3 separate regions of the Homo sapiens genome follow, and regions 2 and 3 are each linked to region 1. Evidence: promoter capture Hi-C in human tissues and cell types (Jung and others, 2019). All regions are on one chromosome and are shown on one strand. The core of a region is centred on a gene start or on the middle of the fragment in contact, and the rest is flanking DNA. Distances in the headings are between cores, read along the strand shown. Region 1 holds the start of SLC25A31 (solute carrier family 25 member 31). Region 2 overlaps INTU (inturned planar cell polarity protein). Region 3 overlaps INTU (inturned planar cell polarity protein).

Region 1 (4,125 bases), core at 585-3,084:
CCCTAGAACAGGACTAAAAGAAAGGTCTGCACTGGAGTTGAAGCCACTTCATTTCTTGAGAATACACAATAAATGTCTATTTCTTTTTAAAAGATCATACAGATTTTTCTATTGAATCCAACTATATGGGTGGATTATATAAAATATCTGATAGACTTATCCCTTTAGCTAACTTGGGAGCCATTTTGCAGCAATGGTTCACAAAGCACTTTCGTTATTTCTTTAAATCATTCCAATATTAATAGAAAAAATCAATGATGAACAAAAATGAAATTTTAAATAAGGACAGTGCTTGATGCAAAAAGAAAAACTGGTAATACTGATCCCATCTTTATTTTAAACTTGTATATATTGTGTTTGTTATGAATTCTTTTGCATGACTTGATTTTTAAAAGATTGCATTAAAATAGTTTAAAGTTTTTTTTTTTTCCTGTTTTTAGGAGTGGAGGTTTAATAGAAAAAATAAAGAGAAAGGAGAACAGCTCTCTCTCTAGTTGAAAGAGAGGGGCTTCGGAAACGGAAGGACCCTAAAGTTTTGTTTGTTTTTTTGAGACAGGGTCTCACTCCTTCATCCAGGCTGGAGTGCGGTGGCGCGATCTGGGCTCCCTGAAATCCCCGCATCAGGGTCCCGCAAGTAGCTGGGACTGCAGGCGTGCGCCACCACGCCCGGCTAATTTTTGTATATTTAGCATAGACTGGGTTTCGCCATGTTAGTCAGGCTTGTCTAGAACTCCTGAGCTCGAGCTCAAGTGATCCGCCCGCCTCGGCCTTCCAAAGTGCTAGGATTATAGGCGTGAGCCACCGCGCCTGGCCTTAAAATACTTTTTATCTTGATGACTGAGGGTTGGGTTTTTTTTTTTTAGGGCCCCCTTGAATTTTGGGCAGAACGAAGTACCCCCTTGGTCTTCAGTAGAATAAGCAGAACCTCTTTTCACTAATAGGTTTCAGAGTACTGGTAAGCCCTAGTGCTCCCATATTTGTACTTCTCTTAGACATACTATTTCAACAAATATACATATAGATTTTGACTCAAGGTCTCCTCTGTCGCCCATGCTGGAGCATAGTGGGGTGATTATACCAACAAATATTTAAGCAACTTAGAGCACTAGTTATAGCAGAGTGCCTAATGGCATCTCCCTCAATCCTGGGAGGTCAACCACTCTCCTTCTGGACCTGGCACAGGTGCACCAAGGTGTAAATCGCACTGCAGATTTAGAGAAAGAGAAGGCAGTGGTCTCCCCGGTACCAGGACTTGGTCAGGACCAACGCGGCCCTGGAAAAGCAGAGCCTGTTAGGTTCAGAAACTAAATTCTGGAAGGGTAAGAAGCAAATTCATCACCGACAGCTGTAGCTGTGGTTGTGGGGCCCACAATCATGCCCCTCCCAGCCACCCTCTTCTCTGGGAAGCTGACGAGGGCGCCGGGAGAGGCTGTCGGGGCGGCCTGCCTTGACGCACCCTGCTCGCGAGGAATCCGCACCAGGCAGTCCACCATGCCTTTGTACCGCGCCTCGGGGCTGATCTGCTTCGACGACGCCTGCACCTGCAGCAGCAGCTTCACCCGCTCGATGGGCGCCACCGCTGTCTTGGACACAGCTGCCGCGACTCCGCCGGCCAGAAGGTCCTTCCCGAAGGATGAGGCGTCAAACAGCCGCTTTTCTGCCTTCTTTTTCGCAGGCTCACGATGCATGATGGAGAAGGATATAAAAACCGGCAGCAGTGGCTAAAAATGAGTACGGGAGCTACGATGAAGGGAAGCGGAAAACCGGAAAACCGCTGCAGCATCGTACTGGCGAGAAAGTGGCTCTTGGGACGCTGAGAGAGCCGCGCGCCGGCGAGGCGCGTGCGGAAAAGCTGCGCAGGCGCTCCAACGGCCTCCAGCCACGTGACGCCTGACACGTGACACCTGACACGTGACTCCTGACACGTGGCTCCTGGATGCGCGGTGACGCCTGCGCACTTCTACGAGCGGAGCCTGGGCTTTCTGATGAGGGAGGGGTCCGGAGGCGGTGAGCATTGAGCAGGAAAGGCGAGGGGAGGGGCCGAGGAGAGCCAGTTCTGTGTGAAGAAATTTAGTAGCTGAGACTAGGCCAGAGCAGTAAACCAGCGGTGTGAGATTAACAGAATTTAGTTTTAGTTCCTAGTGTTACCCCCTTCACTTTCTTAATCGCTTTAATCCGTTACGTTTTTTTTGACCAGAGATGGTTCCTTTGACCTTTCTTGGCATCTTAAAAAAGACAGTCTTACCTGTTGTGTGATTCAAGTGATGTTCCCCTTAAATTTCACCCTATGTGCCTGTTAATGCTTCAAATTCCCTTGGAAATTGCTTTAATCTGTTCCTTTAATTAAGCAGGGATCCTTTGTCTAGTCACTTTCTGTGTCGTTTTGATGATTGTGCCCCCATAGCATAATACATGTTCCTCTTTTTCATATTGTATTTAAATTGATAATATCCAGAGCAGTGGTTCTCAATCCAGACTGCACATTCAAGGGGATGAGGGGTGTTTTGTTTTGTTTTTCAAATTGATGCTTGGGATTAGGCCCTGCACATTAAATCAGAACGTCTAGAAGTGAGGCCTGGCATCAGTATTTAAATTCTCCAGGTAATTCTAGTGTTTGAAGTAATTCTAATTCTAGGGTTGAGGGCCAATGACCTATCTAGAAGAGTAGTTCACAAACTTTTCGATTGCAGGACCCCTCTTTTTCACTCTGAAAAATTATTGAAGGCCAGGTACCAGTAATCCCAAAACTTTGGGCCAAGTCCAGCCTGGGCAACATAGTGAGACCCCTCCTTTACAAAAAAAAAAATAGCTGGGCGTGGCTGCACAAGCCTGTAGTCCTAAGTATAGCTACTTAGGAGGCTAAGACAGGAGAAATGCTTGAGCCCTGGAGTTGTAGGCTGCAGTGAGTTATTATCTCACCACTGTGCTCCAGCCTGGGCAACAGAGCAGGACCCTGTCTCTTAAAAAAAATTATTGAAGACACAATGAAGCTTCCGTTTTTATTATGTATATTGGCATTTACCACTCAGAAATTAAAACACGATTTAAAAATATTTAATTCATTTAAAATAAAAATAATCCATTACAGGATAGCATAAGTACGACTTTTAAATAAAAAATGTAGTAGAAAAATAGTATTGTTTTATATTTTTGAATCTCTAATGTCTGATTTAATAAAAGACAGCTAGATTCACATTACTGCTTTTGCATTCAGTCTGTTGTGATATCATACATGTAGCCACTGGAAAACTCCACTGTTTATTCAGGACAGAATGAAAGTGAAAAAGGCAAATAATAGTATCATTTAAGAAAATACCTTTGACTTCATGGTGTTCCTGTCTCCGTGACACAGAGGGGTTTTCTAAACTGCACTTTGAGAACTCATTTAGAGGAGGTTGGCAGATTCAGGTTTGACTTCTTTCGGCAAAAATACTCAGTAGAGGTACGTCTAGCCTGTACATAACATTTGTCTTTTTCTTTCACCTCACTTTTTTCACTTAATATATCGTGGAGATCCTTCTATAGTAGCATTTAATATATCCCTTTTTACAGCTCGTTTGGTGTTTTGAAATAAATGGAGATCCCATCTTATCACCTCTTACTCTGTAGGACCTGCAGAGCCTTACAACACATCTATAAAATGTGAAATGAGTTTTTAGCTTTTTTTGAATGTTAGGTTCTAATTTTTCCTTTGTCTTATGTGTTATAACCCTTCTACTAGTACTTGTCACTAGTAAAAAACCATTTAGGTCAGAAGGATTCCAGACCAGGAATGTTGTCAATATTTTGATTACCTCACATAAAATCAGTTGGCAAGTCCTACTGATATCATATGTTTGGTGCTACTTCCTTTCCATGGTGGCTTATTCAACCTTTTTTTTTGAGACAGAGTCTCGCTCTGTTGCCCAGGCTGGAATGCAGTGGTGCAATATTGGCTCACTGAAACCCGGGTTTCAAGCAATTCTCCTGCCTCCGCCTCCCAAATGGCTGGGATTACAGGCATCCACCACAACACCCAGCTAAGTTTTGTATTTTTAGTGGAGACAGGGTTTCACCATGTTGGCCAGGCTGGTCTCAAACTCCTGACCTCAAGTGATCCACCCGCCTTGGCCTCCCAAAGTGCTG
Region 2 (4,125 bases), core at 882-3,381, 59 kb after region 1:
ATGGGTGACAAAGCGAGGCCCTGTCTCAAAAACAAAACAAAAAAAAGCTTCATCTCAGTTGGTTAATTTAACAAATATTTTGTGACTGCCTATTTATGAAGATGATTTGCTAAAGAAAGGAAGATGTAGTCCCAGCTGAGATGACAATCAGTATGGGACACAAATATATAAACAAGTAACCAAAATGTAAGTCAGATTTAAATGTGTTCTCAAGGAAACTTTTGGGGTGATGAATGTATTCACTGTGTCGATAGTTTCAGGGTATACACCTATGTGGAAACTATTCAAATTGTACATTTTACATATGTTCAGTTTACTTCATTATACTTCAGTGAAGTTTTAAAAATTTAATTATGTTCTAAAAAGAGAAACAATAATGAACTATGATAATAAAGAGAACTTAAGTGTGTGGAATTTAAAATATAAATTATAAAATAAATTTTTTCACACAGAACATTGCTTTTGTCTTAATACTTTTAGAAATGCATACACTTTCAGACAAATATTAGCCTCTTATAGTATACTAATATTACTATAGTTTAAAAAGTGTGTATGCAACAAAAGATACACACATTGCTAAGGAACCCCTAAAATAATTTTCATATTTATTACCTTCTTAAAAAAGTTTTTCTAGCTGTATTTACTGCTTTCCACAATTAACCCATATCTCATGGTTAATAACAAAATCTAAATATTAGGTAAAATAACATCTATTCTTTACAGTAGAAAAAATAAAGGCAAAAAAAAAAAAAAAAGCAACACCGCACAGAGAAACTTAAATTTTCTTTCTAATGAGACTGAAAAGGAGGAATGCACCTCCTTATGCTAAATGAAAGAAGCCAGTCACAAATAGCCACACATTATATGATTCCATTCATATGTAATATCCAGAACAGGGATATCTATAGGAATGGAAAGTAGATTAGCAGTTGCCCAGGGGTTGGGCTGGCTGAGCTAAAGGGTATAGGATTTCTTTCTGAGGTGAGAAAAATGTTTTAAAATTGAGTTTGATGAGGGTTGCGCATATCTGTGAATACACCAAAAAGCATTTACTTGTACACTTTAAAATTTATTATTTGTATATATTTAGGGAGTACAAGTACAGTTTTAATAGATGGATGTTGCATGGTGGTGAAGTCTGGGCTTTTAGTGTAACCATCACCTAAGGAGTGTACATTGTATCCATTAAGTAGTTTTTCATTTCTGACTCCCCTCCCGCCCTTCAAAAGCTCCAATGTCTGTTATTTTACACTCTATGTCCATGTGTATACATTATTTAGCCCCCATTTATAAGTGAGAATATGTGATATTTGACTTTCTGTTTGAGTTGTTTCACTTAAGATAATGGCCTCCAGTTCTATCTACGTTGCTGCAAATGACATGATTTCATTCTCTGTTATTTATTCCATTTATTTATTTAATTTACTCCATTTATTTATTTGTTCTTTTTTATTCCATAGTATATACATACACCACATTTTCTTTATCCAGTCATCTGTTGATGGATGCTTAGATTGATTCCATTATCTTTGCTATTGTGAATAGCACTCATAAATATATGAGTGCAGGTACCTTTTTGATATAATGATTTCTTTTCCTTTGGTTATATACCAAGTCATGGGGTTACTGGATCAAATTGTAGTTCTATTTTTAGTTTTTTGAGAAATCTCCATACTGTTTTCTGTAGAGGTTGTACTCATTTACAATTCCACCAGCACTGTATAAGCATTCCCTTTTCTCTGCATCCTCACCAGCATCTGTTATTTTTTGACCTTTTAATAATAGCCATTCTGACTGGTGTAAGATGTTATCTCATTGTGCTTTTAATTTGCATTTCTCTGATGATTAGTGATGAGCATTTTTTCATATGCACGTTATCCATTTGTATGTCTTCTTTTAAAAAATGTCTGTTCATGTCCTTTGCCCACTTTTTAATGGGGTTATTTGTTGTTTTCTTGTTGAGTTGTCTGAGTTCCTTATATAGATTCTGGATATTAGTCAGTTGGTGGATGTGCAATTTGCAAATATTTTCTCTCATTCCGCAGGCTATCTATTGACTCTGGACTATTTCTTTTGCTGTGTAGAAACTTTTCAGTTTAATTAAGACCTACTTATCTATTTTTTGGTTTTGTTGCATTTGCTTTTGAGGTCTTACTAATGAATTATTTGCCTAGGTCAAAGTCCAGAAGAGTGTTTCCTAGGTTTTCTTCTAGCATTTTTATAGTGTCAGGCATTACACTTAAGTCTTTAATCTAACTTGAGTTCATTTTTGTATATGGTGAGAGAGATGGGTTCAGTTTCATTCTTTTGCATATGGCTATCCAACTTTCCCAGCACCATTTATTGAATAGGGTGTGCTTTCCCCAGTGTATATTTTTGTCAACTTTGTCAAAGGTCAATTGGCTATAGGCATGTGGCTTTATTTCTGTGTTCTCTGTTCTGTTCCATTGATCTATGTCTATTTTTATACCAGTACCATGCTGTTTTGGGTTACTATAGAAAGCCTTGTAGCATAATTTGAAGTCAGGTGATGTGATGCCTCCAAGTTTTGTTCTTTTTGCTTAGGACTGCTTTGGCTATTCAGGCTCTTTTTTGGTTCCATACCAATTTTAGGATTACACATGCACTTCAAATGGGTGAATTGTATCACTTATGTACTATATCTCAATAAAGATTTTTAAAAAATAAAAAGAGGCCTGCAATATGCTTTTATGAACCCAAATTTATAAACTAAATAGAGCCTCCAGTACTACTGTATTGAAAATAAACTAACAGTTTGTATATACACTATATTAAAGTCACATAGTTAAACATGACTTTTAATTAGTTAAAACATAAAATTCTTCTGTCTATTGCCTTGTAGATTCTACCTCTTTTAAAATCATAGAAATGTCATTTCTACCTGAATATGGGGGAAAAAAAGTTAAAGCCTAGAAAATCCAACTTGATATTTTTTCAGTATTACGGAGGCTGTTGAAATTTGAGATAAAATTTCCTTGTAAAGTCTAAAATTGTTGAAATAATAAGGAAGAAAAATTGTTTATAATTCTTAGATTTATTTTATGAAAAAAAACACAAAACCTAAAAGCTTTGAGCCTTTTCCTCCCATAAATTAACTATGGCATTTCAATGTCAGGGCTTAATAAATCAATGGAATGGGTATTTGACTCTATAATTGACTATATTAAGAGTTCTAAATATAAAATTATTTGACATCAATGTTGCTCATCCATCATTAACTACACTGATGACGAATGCATCTGTCCTATTTGTCTATTTTTGGTTTTGCTGCATTTGCTTTTGAGGTCTTAGTCATGAATTATTTGCCTAGGCCAATGTCCAGAAGCATTTTTCCTAGGTTTTCCTCTAGCATTTCTATAGTGTCAAGTCTTCCTTTTAAGCCTTTAACCTAAATCAAGTTAGATTAAAGGGACAAATGGGAGCTAAATAATGTGTACACATGGACATAGAATGTGGAATAACAGACATTGGAGATTTTGAAGGGTGGGAGGGCAGGAAAATTCACAGATTATGAATAGCCCTCCTAAAGAACATTTTGTATTTTTCTATCATTGTTGTAAGAACAGAATATGTCCTAACTATATGACCAATTTTCGTGTTCAGTCATTCTTGCCAATTCTGTTTGCCACAAAGGTATTGCCTAGGAAGTTAACAATCAAGATAGAAACATGAAAAAGCTGAGATTCATAATAATGCCATGCTTAAAAGATACATCTTCATGAAGAAATAATAAATATAGGCCCGAGTGTTTTTTAAAATGTGCCAAAACACCCAGATCTACAGCTGTGTTGAGAATCTACACTTCAAATAGATGACTGGTAGAAATAACTTAGATGAAGCAAAAATCTGCAGACATTCTGCAGAGCTCGTTATCTATAATGTATAGATATATACGTGTATATACATACATTATAGACTATAATGTATATAATACATACATTGTAGATACAAGTATATTTGTATACCAGATACTTGTTTTAGCATTTTGTCAGGGTGAAATAAAAGAACTTGAAAAAAACAGAATTAAAGCTAAATAAAAATTATTACCTAGTAACTTGTGTCCCAGTTACGTTTTCCAGCATGTCACAGAGTGTGAGAAAAATC
Region 3 (4,125 bases), core at 985-3,484, 41 kb after region 1:
TAGACACACAGTAGAATGACCCAAATCCAAAATACTGACAAAACTAAGTCCTGACAAGGATATGGAACAACAGGAACTCTCATTCATTGCTGGTAGGAATACAAAATACAGCCACTTTGGAAGACAGTTTGGTAGTTTCTTACAAAACTAAACATTCTCTTGCTATTTGACCAAGAATTAATTGCCCAAACATGGGAGCAACAGAGATTTTCAGCGAATGGATAAATAAACTATGGTATACCTGAACAATGAAATACTATTCAGCATTAAAAAGAAATGAGCTATCAAGCTGTAAAAAGACAAAGAGGAACTTAAAATGTATATTACTAAGTGAAAGAAGCCAATCTGAAAAGACTACATACCATATGATTACAACTATATAACATTTTGGAAAATGCAAAATGATGGAGGCAGTGAAAAGATCATTTGTTTCCAGGGGTTAATGGAAAGGGAGGGATGAAAGAGAGGGATAGGCAGAACACAGAGGATTTCTGGGGCTGTGAAACTACTCTGTATGATACTAAAAGGATGGATCCATGTCATTATAATCTGTCTAAATCTATAGAATGTACACCACCAAGAATGAACCCTAATGTAAATGATGGACTTTGGGTTATTATGATGTGTCAATGTAGGTTCATCAATTATAACAACTGTACCCCTGTGGTGGGGAATGTTGATAATGGAGAGGCTATGCATGTATGATGTATGGGGGAAGGGGGTACGTGGGAAATCTGTACCTTTCTCTCAATTTTACTGTGAACCTAAAACTGCAGTAAAAAATAGAATAAAAAAAACTTCAAATGTTATTGTTGTTCAAATTTTATATTAATCAAATAGAGCTTTAGACTACTTTAGCAAAAGGTATCTAGCTCTCTTCCCAAAAGTATTGTTCTTAATCTCCTAACTGGACTACAAAATGTAGAAAACATCTAAGCCAGATCCTCACTGTTTCCTGTGTATTAATTTCACCTGCTCAACCTGACTGTGAACATCTAGAGGTTTTTCTGGATTCTGCAAAGCATGGCACAGACTTGAGCAACCGGCACAATGAACACTGATCTCCACACAGCAGTGTTAGACGTAACAAGGATAAAAGCAGCCAAAGCACTGGCAAGATAAGCAACAGCTATGGTTTAAGGCAATGAATTAAAAATGTATACCAGAATTCACACAGTGATTTCTTAATTTGATATTCTTTTAGGGTGAAATAAAGAAAAGCATATAAATCTTTTAAAGAAATATATGCTAAATTAACAAAAATCTCAATGAAAAAGAGGTAGCCTTCACATGGAATCTGTAAGCCCCAAATAGACAATACTTTAGAACATCTTAAACTTCTTCGAGGGAAGATAATATTTAATGTATCTAAATTCTAAACACACTGCCCCTAAAACATTAAGTACCTCTACTATCACAGAAAGAAGGGACTATATATTTTGAGGGAAGAGGTTTCTTTAATGAAGAAATTCTGACAGAGGGGCAAGAACCTAAGTAATGGCCAGGTAGAATGGCAAGCCTCACGAGATGGTACCTTCTGACTCATGAAGTGGGCATGGGCCCTGTGACTGAGGATAAAAGACCCCAGAATGGGCATGAGACAGTCTTTGGAACCAGGGTCTTTCTCTTTTAAAGGTAAAGTTATCTAGTTACTTTCTATGTTTCTATCTATATCGAACACTTATATCCTTCCCTTCCCTTCCCTTGCCTCTTCCCTCCCCCTTTCCTTTCCCCTTTCTTTCTCCTTTCCTTTTTCCTTTTCTCTTCCCTTTTCCCTCTTCTTTTTCCTTTTCCTTTCCTTTCCTGAGATAGGGTCTCATTCTGTTGCCCCACCGTAGTGCAGTGGTGCAATCATAGCTCACTGCAACTATGATTGAGTGGGGAGCCCAACTCCTGGGTTCAAGTAATCCTCCCACCTCAGCCTACTGAGTAGCTGGAATACAGGTGTGTGCCACCATGCTCTGCTAATGTTTAAAGTTTTTGTGGAGATAGGGTCTCCATATGTTGTCCAGGCTGGTCTTGAACTCTTGGCCTCAAGTGATCCTCCCACCTCAGTCTCCCAAAGCACGAGGATTACAGGCATGAGCCACCATGCCCAGCCAATGCTTATATATTCTTATGAAAATATTAGGTAGAATTATATATCTCATACTTCTTAGTTTTTTATACAATTTAAGAAAATGGTAGGCCAGGTGCCATGGCTCATGCCTGTAATCCAGCACTCTAGGAGACTGAGGCGGGCAGATTGCTTGAGCTCAGGAGTTCGAGACCAGCCTGGGAAACATGGAGAAACCTGGTCTCTACTTAAAAATACAAAAATTAGCCAGGCATGGTGGTGTGCATGTGTAGTCCCAGCTACCTGAGAGGCTGAGGTGAGAAGATCACCCGAGCCTGGGATGTGGAGGCTGCAGTGAGCTATGATCATGCCACTGCACTCCCACTCCAGCTGGGGTGACAAAGCAAGACCCTGTCTCAAAAAAAAAAAAAAAAAAAAAAAGAAAGAAAGAAAAGAAAAAGAAAGAAAGAAAGGAAAGGGTAATTATTGTCCTGAAATATCAAAAGACCAGGCAGTTGATAGAGCTAAGGACAAAAAAAATACCAGAAGGCAAAGCATCTTTTGAACATGCTCTAACACCTCATCTCCTTTCAAATAGTAATTGTATAATAATGCTCCCATAACTACAACTACAATGTGCCGGGCACAATTCTAAATACTTCACGTGTAATAACTCATAAATCTTCCATGAAGTAGGGACTATTATTTCCTCCATTTTACAGATGAGGAAACTGAGCAAAGTGATTGATACATCAATTTAAATAACTATTAAGCTGTCAAAAAGGCATTTATTTGATCATACATTGTAGAGTCTTATGAAGAGTAGGAACTTGAATTAGGTTTCTACTGTAACATAGCCTAGGTTTCTTCAAGAGCAGAGAAGTGGCTATGGCATAATGCCTCATTTAATACTAATACAAATGCTGTAACTAAATAGATTATATGGTGATCTACACTGATGAAAATGTCTGAAATAATCTTGTCAATCATTCAATAATAAAGTTATTCTAGGTTCACAGATATAACTAAAATCATATTGATAATTCTTAACCGTCATACAGTTTTACTATTGGTATGCGATCCATGGGACAAGCCAAAAGCTAATCACATATGTTCATGTAAAAAAAGATTTTGGTAGACTAGTGGACTTTGTATTTTAACTGAGAATACTGTTAGTCAACCATGTCATCCACTTTTTTTTTTTTTGTACAGAAACATAATTCTAACTTGATAACCTTACATTATAAAATCAAAGTCACAAAATTCCAAAGTAAGACACACCATTTAATTACGATTTCTGAAAAGTAGTCCTAGCTTGGATAAAGCTTAAATTTAAAAGTAAGAGGAGAGAGCTAATTTCTACTTATAAAGGATAATTTCTCTTTCTGGGTTTATTGCACTGGACCTCCTACTTTGTCAACCAATTGCCTCTTTAATTTTTAACCATAATTCCAAAAATAACAAAAAGTCTACGAAAAAAAGAGAAGATACAAGATTATAATAAGGCACCTGGTTCTGCTTCTGCTTTATAATACCTAAGATTACCTTGATTTCCAGTGGAAGTGTGAGCCACCGGACTCCAGGGAGGTTGTCTAAAAGTACTGCACTGGAAGCATCGTACTGCTGAGCACTGGGACTGGCGCTGGAATGCAGTTTCGCAGGCTGAAGTGCTCTTTGAAAGAACAAGTTAAAAAAATGATCCAAACGAGGAACATTCTCAATCTGGCAAAAGGCACTGGAGAAATAAGAGCTGTAAGTTAGAACGACATATGGAAATGGTGGTCATTTTTTGTGTGCTCCTAAGGGAACTGGATCTTTCCCAACTACATAGGCTATCTTCCTCACTCCTCTCTTCCTTCAATAGAATTGCTGCTAGAATGTTACTGACGGATTGTGTAAAGAAATTTACCCTGTCCAAACTTTTTACCCTAAAACCTACTCTCAAGTGTATCAAGTAGATGGCTCTATGGAAGAACCACAGGGCTAACACAAGTGACATATTTATAAAAGAAAGGGCTGAAGTACCCTTTTTGTAAAAAATGTAGGTTGTTTTTACCTCTGACTGTCTT

Evidence for each region. Contacts are between HindIII fragments. The study calls those that stand out against the background at their distance.
Region 2: a contact is called between a fragment that was not itself captured here and the fragment with the promoter of SLC25A31 in region 1, in 2 of the 25 tissues and cell types used here (adrenal gland and hippocampus).
Region 3: a contact is called between a fragment that was not itself captured here and the fragment with the promoter of SLC25A31 in region 1, in 1 of the 25 tissues and cell types used here (dorsolateral prefrontal cortex).

Annotation. Positions count from the first base shown.
Region 1 is chr4:127,728,109-127,732,233 of GRCh38, reverse strand. SLC25A31 (solute carrier family 25 member 31) reads right to left here and starts at 1,834. Exons shown (of 6, transcript NM_031291.4): 1 at 1,457-1,834. The coding sequence starts at 1,688. RefSeq lists a silencer at 1,957-2,114. The HindIII fragment of the contact is 3,983 bases long and covers 1-3,627 here.
Region 2 is chr4:127,669,098-127,673,222 of GRCh38, reverse strand. INTU (inturned planar cell polarity protein) reads right to left here. Exons shown (of 16, transcript NM_015693.4): 5 at 4,069-4,125. Among named protein-coding and RNA genes, the nearest start is that of INTU, 38 kb to the right of the region's middle. The HindIII fragment of the contact is 4,484 bases long and covers 1-4,125 here.
Region 3 is chr4:127,687,344-127,691,468 of GRCh38, reverse strand. It overlaps INTU (inturned planar cell polarity protein), which reads right to left. Exons shown (of 16, transcript NM_015693.4): 8 at 3,602-3,791. Among named protein-coding and RNA genes, the nearest start is that of SLC25A31, 41 kb to the left of the region's middle. RefSeq lists an enhancer at 3,583-4,125. The HindIII fragment of the contact is 6,211 bases long and covers 1-4,125 here.